Regions from separate parts of the Homo sapiens genome. Here regions 1 and 3 are each linked to region 2. Evidence: promoter capture Hi-C in human tissues and cell types (Jung and others, 2019). All regions are on one chromosome and are shown on one strand. The core of a region is centred on a gene start or on the middle of the fragment in contact, and the rest is flanking DNA. Distances in the headings are between cores, read along the strand shown. Region 1 overlaps PACSIN2 (protein kinase C and casein kinase substrate in neurons 2). Region 2 holds the start of A4GALT (alpha 1,4-galactosyltransferase (P1PK blood group)). Region 3 overlaps PACSIN2 (protein kinase C and casein kinase substrate in neurons 2).

Region 1 (2,982 bases), core at 72-2,571, 220 kb after region 2:
TTTTGCACAATACAATATAGAAAGCAAAGAAAGAAAAAGACACAATTGATAAAAATCTTATTACCTAAAATACATTAAGAGCTGATATGAAGACAGAGGATCCAATTCCACTGGACAAAGAAGTTGCTGGAGAGGAACAAACAGAAGAGGAGATGGCTGGGCAGAGACAGGAATGCTCACTAAGTTCTACCTGCTAAGCCAGACTGTGTTGGTAGTCCTGGCCACATCAGTAGTGAAAAGTCCACACAAAGCCCCCAGCCTCTCCTGTCTACTGTGTTGTCCACTGAGCAGGCCTCGAGTGGCAGCTCTCAGAGAGTGCTGTCTCCTTAATCAGCCTGGCCTGAGGGACTCTGTGGAACCGCACCCCCAGCCATCCTACAAGGGACACACAGATCAAGCGAGAAAGACATTTGTGTTAGGCTAAGTCTCTGAGACTTGGGGTTTGCTTGTTACTGCAATGTAACCTAGCTAAATATAATACAACAAATTCCCATGCAGGAAAAAAAAGCACAACTTCCTTTAAAATATGGAAATAACTTGTAAAATAAGGAAAATTAATATGACAATGCCAGTTTTGGTGGGGCTACAGGAAAACAGAAATGTACTCTAACATTGCTAATAGGCTTCATGGAAAAATCTGAAAATACAGAACAAGGCAGATAACAGTTACCAACCTCTGACCCTTAAGTCCCACTCTGGGGAACATGCCCCAAGCAAATAAACTCAAAGAAAAAATAGCTTGGACAAAATGTTCATCACTGCAATATTTATAACAGCAAAAATTGGAAACGAGTCAGCTGCTCAAAGCTAAGAAAACAATGACGAGTTGACAGAAAGGACACAACACATCCGTTACAGAGAACTAGCAGGTGAGCTATTTTCCATCCGAAATTGGGTATAAGCAAAAAAGGCAGAGTGGCACAGCGCATCCACTACACATCAACTTATAAGGTGAGGACTGTAGCTGGGCGCGGTGGCTCACGCCTATAATCTCAGCACTTTGGGAGGCCAAGATGGGTGGATCACCTGAGGTCAGGAGTTCAAGACCAGCCGGGCCAACACAGTGAAACCCTATGTCTACTAAAAATACAAAAATTAGCCAGGTGTGGTGGTACGCCCCTGTAGTTTCAGCTACTCAGGAGGCTGAGGCAGGAGAATCACTTGAACCTGGGAGGCAGAGGTTGCGGTGAGCCAAGATCATACCACTGTACTCTAGCCTGGACGACAGGGCAAGACTCGTCTCAAAAAAAAAAAAAAAGAGGCAAGGGCTGTGTCATCTCCGTATCCCCAGTGCTTAGCATGAGGTAGATGCTCAAATGAGTCTGCACAGTGACTAGATGTACGCACCGGCAATTACCAAGCTGACAGAAGCAAAATCAGTGGGGGACGAGGGCAAGAGGAGTCTTTGGGGAGGGAGCTGACACTCACCAGCTCATTTCTGTAGTGGCTGCAGTGTGCCTTCTCTCAACCTCCTCTGCCTGTTTCCTGGCTGCTGGCGCTCCCCAGGTTCTGTCCCAGGCCCTCTCTCTTACGTCTTCTGTGCCCACACACCAAACCACCTTTAACCTCAAGCCCCCTGATCTGCTGTCTGGCCCAGACCCGCATCTCTGCCTACTGGATGCCTCCACTTGGCCATCACACAGTCCTTGCAAACTATCCCCTTCCCTATGAGCCCACTCCTGTTCCTGGGTTTTCTACGTCAGAAATGGTCCCACCATTCATTCACCCAGCTTCTCAAGCCAGAAACTCCTCTTCTTCCCACACCCAACCCCCCTCACCACTACCACATTCAATCAGCTTCCAAGACCGGACTACATCAGCTCTTCAATATCTCTTGAATCCTCCCACTTGGCTCTGTCCCCATGATGATAGCTACCTTCGCTAAGGCCACCATTGCCTCCTGCCTAATCCTTAACAACGTCCTAACTAACCTGCAGCCACTTGTTTAGTCCCCGACTCCCTTCATTCTCCATGACATTACTGTGACTCTACCATGGTGGTTGGAATGTCTTCTGGAAAGATCAGGTTTTGCCTCTACTCAAACTCCTCCCCCTACTTCCTCCCGAAGCCAGCAGGGCCTCCAGGCTGTAACTACTGCTCCTCCAGCCTCACCACTCACACCACACTCCTGGCCACACTATACACGCTCTGGCCACCGTTAATCACCTGTGTCTACCAACACAAGCACCACACTCCTATCAGCTCCACCCCTTCACACACACTGTTCCCTCTGAACAAATGCACAAATGAATTAGAGGAGGTGGAGGAGAAATCAACTTCTCATAGCCAAATAGTTTCAAAAGCAAAATAATAAGAATCCTTCCAATTACTTTTATAACATAAAGAAGTGTTTAAACTGCATGTGAGCATAACATACCTAATATAATCCAGGGTAGGGTCTCCAGAAGTATGGGTACCCCAAACCTGCCACAGTCTAAGGGGGAAGTAAGGACAAAGCTAATAAAGCCAAAGGATTTGTCCCTGGGGGCAGGAGTGGAAGCACTCACTGACTGCCACTGCATCCAGGAAGGAGGCACACATTGGCCTCTGAGCCTGGCGAGAGCAGCAATGTACCACGGGCTCACCCACTACTTGGGAGGCTGAGGCACAAGAATCACTTGAACCCAGGTGATGGAGGTTGCAGTGAGATCGCACCACTGCACTCCAGCCTGGGGGAAAGAGCAAAACTCTGTCTCAAAAAACAAAAAGAACAAGTGCTCACTGATTTGCCACCATGTCCCCACAGCAAGAAGCCCCAGTTACACAACACACAAAGCTGCCTGCCCAGGACTGATGCAGTGTTATTCCAACATAATCTTAGGATCCCTTCACACAGGCATGCGCACACACATGATCCTCTCTCGTCCAGCTGGGGATCAGGACTTCAGAGCACATGAGGACGCGTCAGCTCATCTCTGCCACCACTTCCCTCGCTTCTGGTGTCCTCACATCCTAACCACAGTATTTAACAACTGACAGATG
Region 2 (2,712 bases), core at 198-2,697:
CCAGCCTGGGTGACAGAGGGAGACCCTAAAAAACAAACAAACAGAAAACTAATGACAGAGAGGATTCCATCTCTCCTCTTCCTTTCTTTTCCTTTCTATTTTGTTTTCCTTTGTATTCCTTTGATTTGGGGACCCTCTTTTGGGGGGTTGCAGCTATGGAAACACAGTGTAGCAGGGTTTCGGGTCCTGGAGAAGGTTTGAGGCTGGAAGAGGGCTGTGGGAAATCTTGAGGGAGGCCTGGCTCCATCCGCACTCTGCTATGGGACCCTGGGCAGGGTGGCTCCCTCATTCTTTGGGAGGAGGTGACAAAGGGGAAGTCTTTGGGCAGCTGGTGGCGGGAACGGGAAGGCCAGACCTGGCCTGAGACCCACCAGGTGCTCGGGGTTATTTGCTGAGTGCAGGGTACGTGACCCCAAGGGGCCTTCGCGGAACAATCACTCGACGTTGGCGGAGGGGAGGAAGCCGCAGAGAGGGTGTCGTGAGGGAAAGGTGGGTGCAGGGGAAATGGCGCTTTAACCCACTCAGGGCCAGAGGCTCAGCCGAGACTATCCAGGTGGGAACTTGTCCCTCCGGATGACAGGTGATGAAACTGAGGGAAGGGGACTCGCCCTGGCAGTGAAACGGGATGGGCGCTGGGACCAGGTGCCCCGGCAGATCCTCTCCCAAGCCCAGTTCCGCTCCCGCTCAGTCCTCAACCTTCCCCAGCTGGAGAGGAGGGAGGGGCGCCTGCGGATCCGAGGCGAGCGCGGAGGCCGGGCGACTCCAACCGGCTCGCCCCGTGCCCAGCTCGTACCCAGGCCGTTTCCCGCACGGGGAGGGCCCTTCCCGCTTCTGGGCAGGTCCAAATCCTCACCCTCCCTAAGGCCGGCGCCGACGCTGCCAGCCCGGCAGAGCCCCCTCCTGCCGGCCGCTCTCCATCCCCGTCCCCGGTCGCATCCGCTCCGGGGCGAGCACCGCCCGACGCCCAGGCTTCCCCCGGACGGAGGAGCGCGACTCACCCACGGTGGCCGGGCAGAGCCTGCCTCGAACCCGGCTTCTCCCCGACGCCCTCTCTCCAGCCCCGGGACCCAACCGGGTGGGGCTGCCCTCGAGGGCTCCGGAGCCAGGCGCGTCCTGCCCGCGAGGGCCGGGGCTCCGGGTCCCGCCGCCGCGCTCCACTTCGGGGCGCAGTTGGGGTGGAGGCGGTGGCCGGGACCGCCGCGCGGGGTTCGTGCGCGCACAAATGTCGCCTCCAGAACAGGTGGCCCGGGCTAGGGCGGCGGCCCAGCCCCTCCGCCCCTGCCCCTGCCTTCCCGAGGCGCCTCCTCCCCACTGCGAGCCGCAGGATCCCCCTGGAGCCCCCGTCCCCCGCAACATCGGCGCGGCCCCTCGTACCTCTAGCTCCAGCGGCGGCGGGCGGCGGACAGCGGGGCCCCGGCGGGCGGGCGGCGCGGCGGCCGGAGGGCAGTGCCTGGGGCCCGGCGGGAGGCAGCACCGCCCCTCCGGCCCGGGGCGGGGTCAGGCCGCCCCGCCCCGCCCGTCCCGACCTACCCTGCGGGTCCCGGTCCCCAGAGCCCTTGCGGGGTCCCCGCGACCCCGCCCGCGCGCCCTCGCTGCTCCCCGGGGCGGGTGCGGACAGTCCCCAGTCCGCCGGCCAACAGGTAGGGAGCGCTCCCCGGCCTCCGCGCCGCCAGTATTACGGGTTACCATCCCGTTTTCCCCATTGAACTGATGAGAAAACTGAGGTTCAGAGGGTTGAGTACCTCGATATTCTGCAGTGGAGAAGGGACGCTGTCACCCCTGGGACCCGGGTCGGCCTGATCCCACCGCCTCCTGCCGGGACCGTGCTAAGGGCATTGCCTGCATCACCCCAGTGTTTGCGGAATTCCAGTTATTTGCTGTATCCTTAACGCCGCCCCGTCCTTTCTCTACTCCTCCTCCTCACTCTCACCTCGCCCCATCTTCACACATATTGCTATTGGTAATTTGTTCAATGTGAGAAATTGGAATGTATCACACACAATTCGTGTATCATAAAACTGTATTTTATTCTCTTTGGAACATGCCATGTTTCCAGCATGTCACAGTCCTGGTGCTTTTAGTTCTTACTCCTCTGGGACAACAAAGACTGCAAAAAATGAAACCATTGGGTGACTTCTTGAGTGCTGACGCCCATCCTCTCACTCAGCTGATGACCCAGTGCCCAAGCCACTGAGAAAATGGAACCTCTATCCTAGCCCTGAGAAAGAGCCTGGCACTCAATGGGTGCCCAATAAATACACTTCGAATGAAGGAATCAGTAGAAAATTCCCACCAGCTCCCCCACCCACCCGCTGAGGTAGCACCCAGTCCCTTCCCTCTTGGGACCGGGCTGAACCCGTCCAGCTCCTGGCCACGACCACCCCCTCCAGAAGATCCCGACCCTTCACGCCAACACTGATCCCGAAACCCTGCCCTCTCTCCATTCTCCCTGGGTCATTCCCATCACAGGCTGTTACTTCTCCCATCTTAAAACGGAAACAAGAGGCCAGGCAAGCACTCACGCCTGTAATCCCAGCACTTTGGGAGGCCAAAGCAAGCAGGTCACCTGAGATCAGAAGTTCAAGACCAGCCTGGCCAACATGGTGAAACTCCATCTCTACAAAATACAAAAATTAGCTGGACATGCTCACTTGAACCCAGGAGGTGGAGGTTGCAGTGAGCCTAGATCATGCCACTGCACTCCAGCCTGGG
Region 3 (2,983 bases), core at 350-2,849, 160 kb after region 2:
AAATCCAGACACAGAGACAGACAAGCATCCACACGATGGGAGTCACTCCACATGCAGAAGAGCCTGACACAGGCCAGCCTCACCCTGCTCCTGCCAGCAGAGCAGCCTCGGGCAAGTCATTTAATCTCACCCAGCCTCAGCTTCCTCATCAATAAGATGGGGTCAGTGCCACCCACTTTACAAGACTATCATAAAAATGGAATGGTGGCAGAGCAGCAGCGGTGCAGTAACTGTTGCTTTTGATGATTGTTACACAGAGGGAGACAAACGGAATGTGTCTCCTATTAACAGCAAGCCTTGACCCGTGACGCATCCCTACACGGTTCTGCTAGATGGATGACAGTAATCCACGTCCTTGACTTAGCTGGGACCTCTGCCCTGGTGAAGGCATCACAGAACCAAAGATGAGGAAAGCACAGAAGAAACAGCACAGCTTCCATATCACAATTCAGAACCAAGTCTCAGAGGGTATGTGCTGTCCTGGGGGCTGAGAGCCACTAAGCAGTCACCTGATCACAAAGGGCCTCAAAGAAAGACTGTCCCAGGCACGACCAGCCCAGAAATGCCAGATTCACCTCCAGTGGATCTTACATATGCCAGCTGCGGCCAGGTGCGGTGGCTCACGCCTGTAATCCCAGCACTTTGGAAGGCCGAGGTGGGCGGATCACAAGGTCAAGAGATCGAGACCATCCTGGACAACATGGTGAAACCCCATCTCTACTAAAAATACAGAAATTAGCTGGGTGTGGTGGCGCATGCCTGTAATCCCAGCTACTCGGGAGGCTGAGGCAGGAGAACTGCTTGAAACCAGAAGGTGGAGGAGGTTGCAGTGAACTGAGATCACGCCACTGCACTCCAGCCTGGGGACAAAGCAAGACTCCGTCTCAAAAAAAAAAAAAGAAAAGAAAAGATATGCCAGCTGCCTTGGTCCTAGCTGTGGCCCCAGAATGGGCAATCTCCATTCCCACCCAGACCTGTACATGGAGTTGGCAGAGTGGGCCCGGCCTTATCTGCTTGGGCCAGCAATTGGCCGGGTCAACCAGGCCTTCCAGAGGTCCAGCCGGCCATGCCTGCAGCTGCAGAAACACTCAGCAGAGGGGCCCTCCCTGCCATCCAGATTACAAAGAAGCAGGAGGCCCTGAGGGCGGTGAGGAGACCTCCTGATGAACGCGCCATCCCAAACCTGGGAGCAGCATCTGAGTTTGCTTCAAAAGCACTTTCCGTTGACTTCAATGACGTGTGTGTTTTAGCTCAAAGGAAACTTACCCAGCCACATTGGACAGGTCTAGGTGCTTCTGAACCTCCAGCAGAACCTCCCGGAAGAAGCGAAGGCGTTTCTCCTCGAACTGCTGGCACTGCTCAAACACCTGCTCCATGTTCTCCATGTACTGGGGTGTGCCCTGGTCGAGTTCCTTCAGGGACTTCTCATACTTCTCTTTGGTCTAAAGGAAAATCCAGGCACAAGACAGAGGTTCATTTCCATTTAGCCCTTGGCTCACCCTGCCCCTGGAGTGTCTCAGGCCTTCCCAGATTCCAAATGCAAAGAAAAAACAGGAGCTCTGGATTCTGACAGACTTCAAGTTCAAGTCCCAGTTCCTCCACTCCTGCAAGGTGAATCACACTCCTGCCATCTGCCCTGTCTCTCAGCTGGAGCAAGGCCCAGACAGGTAGATGCCGGCAAAGGGCAGTCTCCCCAGAACTCAGTGTGTATGGTCTTGAGCGTGCCACACGCCCATGTCCTCTTCTCCCTGTGGGGAAGGGCTGTGCCTGGCTACCCTCAAGCCTCAGATCTGGCCCACAGCAAAGGTGGGGCTGGGGCTGAATCCTGCAGCTCTCTTGGAGCCTCACTGTCCTTTATCAGATGAGGACATCTCTCCTTCACAGTGTTCTGATATGTACATGATGGGGTGCAGGAAGAAGGCATTCAAAAAAAGTCCTCCTTCTCTTGTCTTTCAGCCCACTCCATCCCCCTCACACAGCTGCTCCCTCCCAGATTGTCCCAAGAAGGGGTTTTACAAGGCAGGAAATGTTAAAAAGCAGGTGTGGCCTATCTCAAGAATATCCAGGGGCAGCTAGAAAACGTGTGAAATTCCTAAGACATGGCTAAAGTGGGCACATTCATCTGGTGGGGATGTGCCTCGAGGTCAATGACCTCACACTGGTACACACTTCCCCGCACCCCCTCATCTCAGCATGCAGGGCCACCAGTTTGGTGGCCAGGTGGTTTTGTTAGTTGGTGGGATCATGGTCGTGTTGTCCCCCTGGGGTGGGTGAGAGATAGCAGGGCTGGGGCCACCTATTTATTGCAATTCTTTCTACTATGGGGGTAGTCACGGGCTCCACTCAGGTCTAAGCTTTGCTGTCCCTAACAACATGTGCAGGGCCTTCTGAGGAAGGATGGAGCGCTTCCCGAGACACTGCAGGCCTATCGGGCACCCTCTCTGCCCCCAGCTGGGACTGAGTCTACCCTGCCCATGCGGCTCCCCTCCCAGATGCTCTCCTCTGACTCACGTGGCTCAGAGCCCTGGGAGACTCTGCTTCAGGCTCCAAAGCAACTCCTCTTCTTGAAGCCTTCCCCAGCCTCGTGAGACCAGGTTCCACCCCGCCCTCTAGGGCCCTGACTCCTGCCCCTTTCTCCTCTCCTGGTATCCGGGTCCTTGCTCTGCTTCTCAGCCTCCTAAGATGGCTGGGCTTGGGTCCTCTGTGCCAGGAAAAGGCCACCCCTGCCAGGGCTGGGGCATGCCCAGCAGAGAAAGAGCTCCACAGCGCTGTGGCTATTCCCCTATTCCCCACAGCCATCCACACTGCCCGTGCCCACTACCTGGCAGCCCTGCATGGGAGCCTAGCTCAGAAGCCCAAGACACATAGCTGTGGGTTCAGCGCCCAGCATCTGGAGGATACTGCTGAAGTGACACAGAGCAGCCCCATCTCAGGAGCCTTCAAGACACAATAGCCTCCCGGGAGCTCTCAGGGTACTCAGTGG

Evidence for each region. Contacts are between HindIII fragments. The study calls those that stand out against the background at their distance.
Region 1: a fragment that was not itself captured here is called in contact with the fragment with the promoter of A4GALT in region 2 in 1 of the 25 tissues and cell types used here (liver).
Region 3: a contact is called between a fragment that was not itself captured here and the fragment with the promoter of A4GALT in region 2, in 3 of the 25 tissues and cell types used here (heart left ventricle, lymphoblastoid cells and mesenchymal stem cells).

What each region holds. Positions count from the first base shown.
Region 1 is chr22:42,943,854-42,946,835 of GRCh38, forward strand. The region is part of intron 1 of PACSIN2 (protein kinase C and casein kinase substrate in neurons 2); the gene reads right to left. Among named protein-coding and RNA genes, the nearest start is that of PACSIN2, 70 kb to the right of the region's middle. RefSeq lists a silencer at 1,244-1,323 and an enhancer at 2,814-2,982. The HindIII fragment of the contact is 4,336 bases long and covers 1-2,982 here.
Region 2 is chr22:42,719,423-42,722,134 of GRCh38, forward strand. A4GALT (alpha 1,4-galactosyltransferase (P1PK blood group)) reads right to left here and starts at 1,448. Exons shown (of 3, transcript NM_017436.7): 1 at 1,375-1,448. RefSeq lists silencers at 888-1,017, 1,098-1,327, 1,358-1,547. The HindIII fragment of the contact is 38,593 bases long and covers 1-2,712 here.
Region 3 is chr22:42,883,120-42,886,102 of GRCh38, forward strand. It overlaps PACSIN2 (protein kinase C and casein kinase substrate in neurons 2), which reads right to left. Exons shown (of 11, transcript NM_001184970.3): 6 at 1,267-1,442. Among named protein-coding and RNA genes, the nearest start is that of ARFGAP3, 27 kb to the left of the region's middle. The HindIII fragment of the contact is 5,085 bases long and covers 1-2,983 here.